Linked DNA regions of Homo sapiens: region 1 is linked to region 2. The links are contacts of gene promoters, found by promoter capture Hi-C in human tissues and cell types (Jung and others, 2019). All regions are on one chromosome and are shown on one strand. The core of a region is centred on a gene start or on the middle of the fragment in contact, and the rest is flanking DNA. Distances in the headings are between cores, read along the strand shown.

What was found. The method cuts DNA at HindIII sites, captures the fragments that hold promoters and counts their contacts. A contact is called where the count stands out against the background at its distance.
Region 1: a contact is called between a fragment that was not itself captured here and the fragment with the promoter of IFNA16 in region 2, in 1 of the 25 tissues and cell types used here (dorsolateral prefrontal cortex).

Annotation. Positions count from the first base shown.
Region 1 is chr9:19,997,431-20,003,130 of GRCh38, reverse strand. It overlaps a transcript of SLC24A2 not described here. Among named protein-coding and RNA genes, the nearest start is that of SLC24A2, 210 kb to the right of the region's middle. RefSeq lists an enhancer at 2,632-3,831. The HindIII fragment of the contact is 3,417 bases long and covers 1,764-5,180 here.
Region 2 is chr9:21,213,841-21,218,957 of GRCh38, reverse strand. It overlaps IFNA16 (interferon alpha 16), which reads left to right and starts at 1,647. Exons shown (of 1, transcript NM_002173.3): 1 at 1,647-2,585. The coding sequence starts at 1,653. The coding sequence ends at 2,222. The HindIII fragment of the contact is 8,956 bases long and covers 1-5,117 here.

The sequences.
Region 1 (5,700 bases), core at 2,223-4,722, 1.2 Mb after region 2:
ATTTGTTACACAAAATCCTTCCCTCACCACCATATCTAATTCAACAAACAAAATGAATGCCAAATAGGCAGGCAGAACCAGATTTATCATTTATGGGGCCTAGTACAGGTCCCCTTTTCGAAAGCTATTAAGAATTTCAGGATGCTGACAACAGACCATTAAACCAAGCACAGAGCCATCTAAACACGGGGCCATTTGTGAATGTATTGGTTGTACATCCGTAGAGTCAGCCCTACAGGTAGGTGGAGGATGTGTGTGGAGGCTACAGCTAAGAAAAACCCTGTTATGTGGAATACAGCCAGCCCTGCTGTTGTCCCCTCCTGAAACCACCAGACATGGGCAGTGGGCAAGGAGGGAGGAAAAATCCAGAAGTGTTTGGCTGTTCTATATATGGAAGAAGACAAACCAGAAACTTCTGTGACCTCCTTGGTGACAGTCACTGTGAGTGCACCAGTCTGGAGTTTCCATCATTTACCTGTCCCATCTGTGGTTAAGAGAGTGAGCTCTCAACTATGATTGCCTGAGTTCAAGTCCTAACTCTGTGATGTACCAGCAGTGGGACATTGAAGTATGTTATCTTCAGTTTACTCATCTACAAAATGGGTCTAATAAGGGTACCTGAGTTTGTTTTAACAGTAAGTGCAGTGACACTCCTTTTGTGCTTATGCCTGATTATACCCTGAGTAGATTTTCCTGGTGTTATGCTATTATCTTTTCAAAAGGGTACCAAACTAATAATTGTTACTGAAAAAAAAAAAAAAAAAAGGTTTGTAGCTTGCAGTAAGCCTTTTGGTAGAATAAAGTGCTAATCATTTTTCTAACATGGCAGCCTTTTGTGCATTGCTCAGAGACACCTTTCAACTACTGGTACATCAGTGCTGGCTCAACAGCCTACGTAGACACAGAGTTGGGGTGAAATGGTAGTGCTATTGGTATTACTATTACTCTTCCGATGTTGAAATCTTGTGGTGACAAGCAGAATGCTTGTCTCTGCACCAGAGGTGGTGGTACTAAAACAATCCTTGTGGATTCATCAGCATTTACCTAAGTATGTTCCACTAAAGCAGGGCTTTAGTCCTCAGCCCTGAGGACTGCCTCAAACTTTTGAAAATCAAAAGAATTCTATCAATAAATAAATTTTAGAAATGCTGTATTAAACTCACATAAACAGTATTCTTACCTTTAGTATTCTTATGTGGACTTACATATTTTCCATGAAGTACATTTTTCTGGGAATATATCACAGAACTGATGTTTCAATAAACACATTTTGGGAGATAGCACTCTACTAAATATTTTAGTGCTGGATCAAAGTAGGTGTTGCTTTGTGAAGCTTTTTTTCTTTGGGAGAGGCAACCTTTAACCAGAGGCATCATAAATAAAAGACATGTCTGTATAATGCCCAAATCCATGTAACAAATCTTAAAGACTCGGTAGGAAGATGCTTAGCAACCTCTTTGGTGATGTGGCAAGCAGGCCTCAAAGTTGGCGGATGACATGGAATAGAGATGAATATCCACCAAACTCAGCCATTGCCAGTGGAGGGTGGACTGAGACGCCTTTTTTCACAGTGGTTCTATTTTTGATTCCCATGTGATTTACCCAAAAAAGGCAGGGCCTTGACACCTTGGGGACAGTTATGCTTATTCTCAGCTCAGCAGATTGGGCGAGAATGATTTAAGCAGCAAAGGAAAATTAATTGGTTGCCTTGGCTTCTTCCCCTTCCTGCTAGGCTTAACCCCCTTCCAGATTTCTTCCGCAGGACAGTTCCCTTCTCTCCATGCAGACCTGAGCCAAAATAGAGTGCCAGGAGGGTGAGAGGGTGCGTTGTGAGGCATGCAGAGCACTCTCCACAGGTAAACCTGCAGCTTTGCAGGAAGGTGGATGCACACTCCCTCCTATCCTCAGCCCACTCATTGCTGGATCTAAGAGGACAGGATGTGTGGCGCAGCAGGGACAATGCAGGCTCTGCCATCAGAAACGAAGTGCTGATCCTCCAGGCTTTAACTTTCTCCTTTGTGGCCCACAAAATGCAACTGCCACGTTTGCATTTGATTGTTTATTTTTAAAGTGAGGGTGGGCCCATTAGAGCAATGGATGGGGAGAGAAAGGGCCTCAAAACGTGATCTTTGCTCTTGGATACCAAGATAATATTCATCTTACTATCCATTAGGGTCAGATGACCCTTCTAAGCTTAAAAAGCAATAATTCCAAGTTATGCTTCCTGCCTCCTTCCGTCCTCCACACCCTCTCATACATAACTTTTCTGTCTCAACAGTGATCCTGTTTTTCCCATGAAAGTTTTCTCTGTGTATAGAGGAGGAACAGTCTCACATTTTACTGTTAACTTAGTCTCTAGGGCATGTATATTTCCTGTCTTTATGCTTAAGGCAAAACTGGGGTCCATTCTTTAGTTCAAAATCAGAGCCTTAAAATTATATAACACTGACACATAAGAAACTCCAGTGCAAAAAAATGTGGCAGATATGGAGACTGCGGGAGAAGAGATCCATGTGTCGTGAGTTCCTGATCTTCACTGAGCTCCTACAGCAGTTATTGTTTGTTGCCAGGTGGTCTATTCTCAGGGCCGTTTGTGTTCTGATGTTTCTCCCTTGTCCTCCAATGAGACTGGATAAACTTTTTGAAGATAGAGTTTATACCTATACAATGTTTATCAAGAACTGGCACAAAAGTCTCTGAAACTCCAGTTGAAGGTATGTTTTCACCCTCTGATGATTATAGGGCAGTCTGGATCCAACCTGCCTAGGTCAAATTCTGTCTCTGCTACTAACTAGCTGCATACTAGCTACTTGGGCAAGATTCCTCCAATTCCTTATCCATAAAATAGGGAACTGTTATGAGCAAAGTCCATGTAATATGCTTAGCACAGTTTCTGGCACCTAATGGTACTTCAAAAGGTGAAATAATAATGTTCATTAAGTGCCAACCATTTCCATACATACTAGTTTAAAATCTTTTAAAGTAGGAATTATTACCTCCATTTTACAGCTAGAAAAATAGTAAATCAGAGAAATGTGGTTTTTTAGTTGCAGATCGATCACAAAGTGAGCAGCAGCACAGGTCTGTGTAACCCCAAAGACTGAGACTCCAGCACAGGTCTGTGTAACCCCAAAGACTGCAGTCTCTGAACCTCTCCACACTGTCTTGAACATTCAGGCCATTAAGACCCTGAACTGGGGAACTCCTAGTCTAGCTCTTTAGTCACTTGGCAAAATTGCCACCAGTGACCCGGATGAAGAGGTTGAAAACAGGCCCCTTCTAGACTTTGATTCTCAGCCATGGGTGTTGACTGCTTTGTGCCTCCTGGGTCCCCCTGATGAAACTCTGTGACTCTGGCTCAGGATGACTGTAAGGCAGGACACAGGAGGTCAGCCCTGTAATTCCATAACTGCTCACTCACTGACTGCTTAGTGAGAAACCATGATGACAGCTGGGATCCTTTCCGTGATGAGTAATTACCCTGTCACACAAATCTATTTAGACCACATCCTTCTGGGGTACAACCACCAGTTGATTTAAAATGCAAACCTTTTGTAGCTCATTGCCATGAGGATGAAATATAGAGTTTACTCAGACTTTTCTTTGTTGGAGTATTTATTGTAAATCATTAGTTACTATGAGTTGCTACCCATACATCAAGCAATTCCTACCTAGCCCTGAGTGCTGAAAGAATTCTCTGTGCTTTTCTAGAAAAGGTACCATTTGTCCAAGAATATAATTACTGTATACTTTTTAAAAATCCCAAGCTCATATATTTGTGTAGAGAAACTCAGGCCCAAGGACACCCAATTAACTGGGAACACTCAGTGTGGTTTTCAATACAGGAACCACAAGTCTTCAGGGATGTTAATGAACATGGATAATAAATGCCTCACCTACTACTCAGGCTTCCAGCCAGGGAGGCGAAGGAGTGACAGGCAAAGCCGTGGCTCCCTGCTCCAAGTCTTGCACTAAACACTTTATATAGGTCTTTAATTCTCCCAATAGCCCCAGTGGGTAGGCATTAGCATCTTCATTTTACAGATGAACAAATTGGGGATCCCCATCTTACACCATGAAGCAGTGGAACCAAAACTCATACTGAAAATAATTGACTTTCCCAAGTCTCTCTGCTATATCACCACACACAAAGAGACTTGCAGCCCCAGCTAGCTTATTTCTGGCTTCTGCTGGTCTGATTCTTCTGTGGGTGGCTTTAGAACAAATAGGATGGCTGAGGTCCCCCATCATCAGGGCTGCCGTTGAACATGAAGGAGGAAAGCTGCTATGTATAGCAAGCATTTTTATCTTGCCACCAACAAAGATCAAGCACACAAAATCTGAATCCCCCCAGGGGTGGGAGAAGGAGTGAGTTTCTATTTCTCCCAGACCATTCTGTCCAGAGCACACAGCAATATGGGCAGACAATTAGTATGAACGGATTTGAGCAAAACAGCAAATCTGATTGATGCTGAAAGCACACCCATGTGGGAGCACACAAAGGGATGGAGAAGAGGGGTGGTCATAGGAAGCGGGGCCTGCTTAAAAATTCTAATCCTCATAAGCTTCTGAGGAAGCTGCTCTTTTCACTGGGCAGGTTTTTAATATTTATTGCTGGGGGCTGTTTTAATCCTAATGAAAATAGCATGTCCCTAGGAAAAGAAATGCTGGAGCTACAATGAATGAATGTGGCTCTGGCATTTAAAATGTCTCACAAGGCTCACAGAGGGTAGAGGTGACCCGGAAGTGAATCATTGACAGGCTTCAGGAAGTACTGCTGCCAGAAGGAAGTTGAGCTCAAAACAGGGTATGTGTGGGCGAGTTCAGGCTGAGTTAACCCCTGAATGGGTCTGAATGGAAGACCCATTTCTGAAGAGGGGCACACTCAGAGTTCATCTGCCAGAGTTTGAATCCTAGCCCTGCCATGTCTAAATCTCAATCTCCCATCTCTAAAATGGAGAAAATGATAATTACAGATTTTGTTGTTTCATTGTGAAGACCAATTGAGACAATGAATGTAAATTACTTACCACAGCTTCCGGCACAGAGTAAGTGCTAAATAGTGAGAGATGCATTATTATTAATATAATTTTTATTATTGTATGGCTTATCCTTAATAGTATTGGCTTTTTTCCCAAAAATATAAGGATGCCAGGTATGAACTAAGAGATAGTAACTAGGAGGGCCTATTGGAAAGAGCCAGAGAAAATTAATGCTGAATCTTCTATTGATAAAATTCTGATTCAAATCTGATTCAAACTGAGAAGGAAATAAGAGCTTCTCTTTTGCAGTGAGGGACACAGGCAAATTAACTATTTATCCAAATACAGTTTCATTGGCAAATAAAATGTGTTGCCTGAGTCCAACCATGTCATCAAGTAAGATCTCAACAGAGCTGAATCTGTGTGTAATTCTGAAGACTGGAGTTTGTCTTGCTCACTCCTAGCTGCTGTTGTACGCCTGTTTTTTCATGAGTGGAATCATTTCTAACCACTCAGTAAATTCTCTCTGTTTACCTCTCCCCTTCTATAATAGTGGATCTGTGACTGGGGTTTCCCTTTCTGTTGTTGGGTGAGTCTGACACTTGCTGAGAGTGTGCTGAATGATCCTGACCACCTCCTCTGATCTTCTTGGGCTCACAAATGGGGACCTCAGTTCCTCACTCCAAGGAATAGCTTAAGAATGTAAAAGGTATCATGA
Region 2 (5,117 bases), core at 398-2,897:
AATAGAGGACAGATTAGAGATGAAGCCATAAATAGTTAACATAGTGCTAGCAAAGGATGATATTATGCTGCTCTTGCAACTTGTATCCCCAGATCTACATGAACCTTAAAAAAACTAGAATCCCAGTGGTTTAAGCAGTAAACTAAATGGGCATTATTGACTCTCAGTAAAAGCTGAATGGAAACTTTTGTCATTGTCTATTACAATCCCAGCAAATATGGCCATGAGGAAGCAAAATAGCTTCATTCTTGAACACTTTCCAGTAGAAGAAAAAATGAGAAACTAGTAAAAACTCCACTTACTAAATAGCTGATTTGCTAAAGCAGACCTCATTCCATTTAAAGACTCAGTATCTATAGGGCCAAGGCAAACTAACTTCTTAGGCAAAAGAAAAGGTAGAGTCAGAGTTCAGGACCACTCTGAAAATTAATTCTTTACATGATAATATATTCTAAGTCACATATGTCTATGTGATACTTCTCCTAAGGGTTCTCGAAGTATAAACTAACCTAACACATTACAATAGTTGGTGATTCTCTAACAACTCTGTCCAACAAAATTTCATTGCTTAATATACATCTCTCTCATTGGATTTTCTGCTGTATCACATGAGAAGCACTGATATTGAGTTCCTGAAGATACACAAAATATTTGCAAGATCAGTGTTACAAACCTATGGCAAATAGAAGACTGTGATAGGAGGACATTCTGTCCATTTTTGCTTGATCTTAAAATCTTATCATAATATGTGGCTTTAACCTGCACACCTTTGGGCTGCCATTGACTATCTTATGGTTATTGCTTATGTTTGATCCTCAGTTCTTCAGGATGTTTTGTAGACTTTGAGAATTCAATGCAAATAGCTTGTATCATATGATTTATTTCTAGTACAGTTATTCAACACATCAATATTTATGTCAAGTGCTGAAAAGAAAAAAGTGTTGGCAATATCTGGATGAATACTGCAGCTAGTAAAGTTTACAAATTATTTTCTCATATTAAGCAAAATTCAAAGCTTCATACACTATGAGAAAAATTTTAAAAAATTATTGATTCATATATTTAGTAGTTTTCAATGATTCAGTATGTAATTACATTCATATTAACGTGTATTTATATAGCTTTTATATTGCATATGTAATTTGATAAAATATAATTTACATTAATGAATTACACTAAAAGTTATTCCAGAAATATACTTATCAAATTAAGTTATATGTCAACAGCTTTTAAACTTAGATTTTAGTTTAACTTTTCTGTCATTCTTAACTTTACATTGAATAAAAAGAGCAAACTTTATAGTTTTTATCTGTGAAGTAGAGGTATACGTAGTATACATAAATAGATATGCCAAATCTGTGTTATTAAAATTTCATGAAGATTCCAATTAGTAAAAAATACCATAAAAGTCTTTGAGTGCAGGGGAAAAATAGGCAATGATGAACAAAATGAAAAACATATGTAAACACATGTAGAGAGTGCATAAAGAAAGCAAAAACAGAGATAGAAAGTAAAACCAGGGCATTTAGAAAATGGAAATTAGTATGTTCACTATTTAAGAACTATGCACAGAGCAAAGTCTTCAGAAAACCTAGAGGCCAAGGTTCAAGTTTACCCATCTCCAGTAGCCTAGCAATATTTGCAACATCCCAATGGCCCTGTCCTTTTCTTTACTGATGGCCGTGCTGGTGCTCAGCTACAAATCCATCTGTTCTCTGGGCTGTGATCTGCCTCAGACTCACAGCCTGGGTAATAGGAGGGCCTTGATACTCCTGGCACAAATGGGAAGAATCTCTCATTTCTCCTGCCTGAAGGACAGATATGATTTCGGATTCCCCCAGGAGGTGTTTGATGGCAACCAGTTCCAGAAGGCTCAAGCCATCTCTGCCTTCCATGAGATGATCCAGCAGACCTTCAATCTCTTCAGCACAAAGGATTCATCTGCTGCTTGGGATGAGACCCTCCTAGACAAATTCTACATTGAACTTTTCCAGCAACTGAATGACCTAGAAGCCTGTGTGACACAGGAGGTTGGGGTGGAAGAGATTGCCCTGATGAATGAGGACTCCATCCTGGCTGTGAGGAAATACTTTCAAAGAATCACTCTTTATCTGATGGGGAAGAAATACAGCCCTTGTGCCTGGGAGGTTGTCAGAGCAGAAATCATGAGATCCTTCTCTTTTTCAACAAACTTGCAAAAAGGATTAAGAAGGAAGGATTGAAAACTCATTCAACATGGAAATGATCCTCATTGATTAATACATCATCTCACACTTTCATGAGTTCTTCCATTTCAAAGACTCACTTCTATAACCACCACAAGTTGAATCAAAATTTTCAAATGTTTTCAGGAGTGTAAAGAAGCATCGTGTTTACCTGTGCAGGCACTAGTCCTTTACAGATGACCATGCTGATGTCTCTATTCATCTATTTATTTAAATATTTATTTATTTAACTATTTTTAAGGTTTAAATCATGTTTTATGTAATATCATGTGTACCTTTACATTTTGCTTAATGTAACAATATATGTTCTTCATATTTAGTTAATATATTAACTTCCTTTTCATTAAATTTTTACTATACAAAATTTCTTGTGTTTGTTTATTTTTTAAGATTAAATACCAAGCCTGACTGTATAACCTGACTTAAAAATAGATGATTTAAGTAAGTTACCTATCATAATTTTATTCAAGTTATAGAAAAATATATTTTTCTATACCACGTTATATGTTGCCTTCAGGATATAAACTTGAACATAAAAAATACAGTTCTTGTTGTCTTGTATCTTTGATTTTTGTCAGGAAATGTTTCTAAAAACAATAATAATGCTGAATTAATATCAGTTATACTAACTGCTGTAATGTGAGGAAGTAAAAAAAAACAATGAATTCCTCTTAGCAGAACATAGATTAAGAAATGTCTGCAAGTAAAAGTAGAGATACTCTCTATAAACTGACTTTCAACATGTAATTGAAAATGTACATTGCAAGTCAGATATATGAGTTTGCAGTTTCCAAGGAATACGATATCTGGAAGTTCATAACTGGCAATGGAAAGGCCTAAAATGAAGGCTGTCATGTGGGGAGCAAGCGGAGAGGGAAAAAAAGACTTAAACTGGATTCTGAGGAACTTCCACTATTAAAGTGGGGGAACAGAAGACACACAAAGAAAACAGAGGTGGAATACCTTATCATTAGAAGGACGAGAGGGAATGATGATAAAATGTATTTAGAAGGAATGATGATAAATGGTGCTGGAAAAACTGGATAGCCATAGGCAGAAAATTGAAACTGGACCACTTCCTTACACCTTATACAAAAATTAACTCAAGATGGATTAAAGACTTAAATGTAAAACCCAAAACCATAAAAACCCTAGAAAAAATGTAGGACACAGGATGGGCAAAGATTTTATGAAGAAATCGACAAAAGCAACTGCAACAAAAGCTAAAACTGACAAATGGCATCTAATTAGAGAACGTATGCACGCAAAAGAAACTATCCATCATCAGAGTGAACAGGCAACCCACAGAATGGGAGAAAATCTTTGCAGCCTACCCAACTGACACAGGTCTAATATCCAGAATGTACAAAAAAGAGCTTAAATTTACAAAAACAAAGAGCCCCATCAAAAAGTGGGTGAAGGATATGAACAGACTCTTCTTAAAAGTAGACATTTATGAGGCCAATAATCATTTAAAAACTCAACATCGCTGATCATTAGAGAAATGCGAATCAAAACCACAATGAAATACCATCTCATGCCACTCAGAATGGCAATTATTGAAGAGTCAAAATCAACAGATGCTGGTGAAGCTGTAGAAAAATAGGAAATCTTTTACACTGTTGGAGGGAATGTAAATTACTTCAACCATTGTGGAAGACAGTGTGGCGATTCATCAAGGATCTAGAACCAGAAATACCATTTGACCCAGCAATCCCATTACTGACTATATACCCAAAGGAATATAAATCGTTCTGTTATAAAATACATGAACGTGTATGTGTATTGCAGCACTGTTTATAATGGCAAAGACACGAAACCAACCCAAATGCCCATCAATAATACACTGGATTAAAACAAATTGTGATTAAAACCTAGGTGACGAGTTGATAGGTGAGGCAAACCACCATGGCACATGTATACCTATGTAACAAATCTGCACGTTCTGCACACCTATCCCGGAACTTACAGCAAAATTTAAAAAGAAAGTTGGTCAAAATCAGCTGAAAATACAACATGAACCAAGGAAATTCAGAGAGCAGGAGATGGTTGCGTATAAATGAGGAAAAAAGGAGATTAATAATTATTAAGGAAATCCTAACACAAAATTTACACATCCGGTAAAAATAATAACTTATTTTACATTGAAATTCCATTCTGCTTGTATATACTGTTTTTAGGCAGCCTAAAACAACAGAATTCTGTCATGAATTCTAGAGAGGCTGAAAAATTCTCACCTCATTTCAAAGTCCCATTTATATTCAGTCAGGAATGGTGGCTTGTATAAATACCTGTCAGAGGAGCAGCATCTAGAGTGAAGGGCAGAATACACGTGTCGATGGTTAACTGATTCTGGCACCTGGAACATTTGTTTCCTGGCTCTCAGAATCCCAGAGTACACTCCCATATGAAGTTACTCTCCTAAACTTAAGTAAAATATATATCTTTGCTGGTTCTGAGAGCTGACACACTTTCCCTTTTCCTCCCTGCTTTTCTGTGTCCCGTTTTTCACTCCCATATCACATTAGTTTCCTTCCTCTTCCTCTAGAAATGCGCACTGTGCTCTCTTCTTCACTCATCATTAGCCTGCACTGCCTCTTCATACAGCTGTTTTCAGTTCTCTTGTGGGTTTTACCCATCACTTTCCCCTTAAGAGCACAAAATCACAAATTAAAGCAGAAGTTCAGTGAAAGTTCTAGGTTTTTCAGAAGCTCTTTTATAAAATACTCTTTTTCCTTTCTTATGATGACTATTTCTGTAAAAGACAGAATGTCGCTGTTACAATGACATAACAGTAGCTTAGCAAAAAAGGAAATAAAAGGCAGGTTCCATTTTACTTTGAGACTCTTACAACATTTACAGGGAAAGAGAGCCCCCAAAGTGCACCAAGAC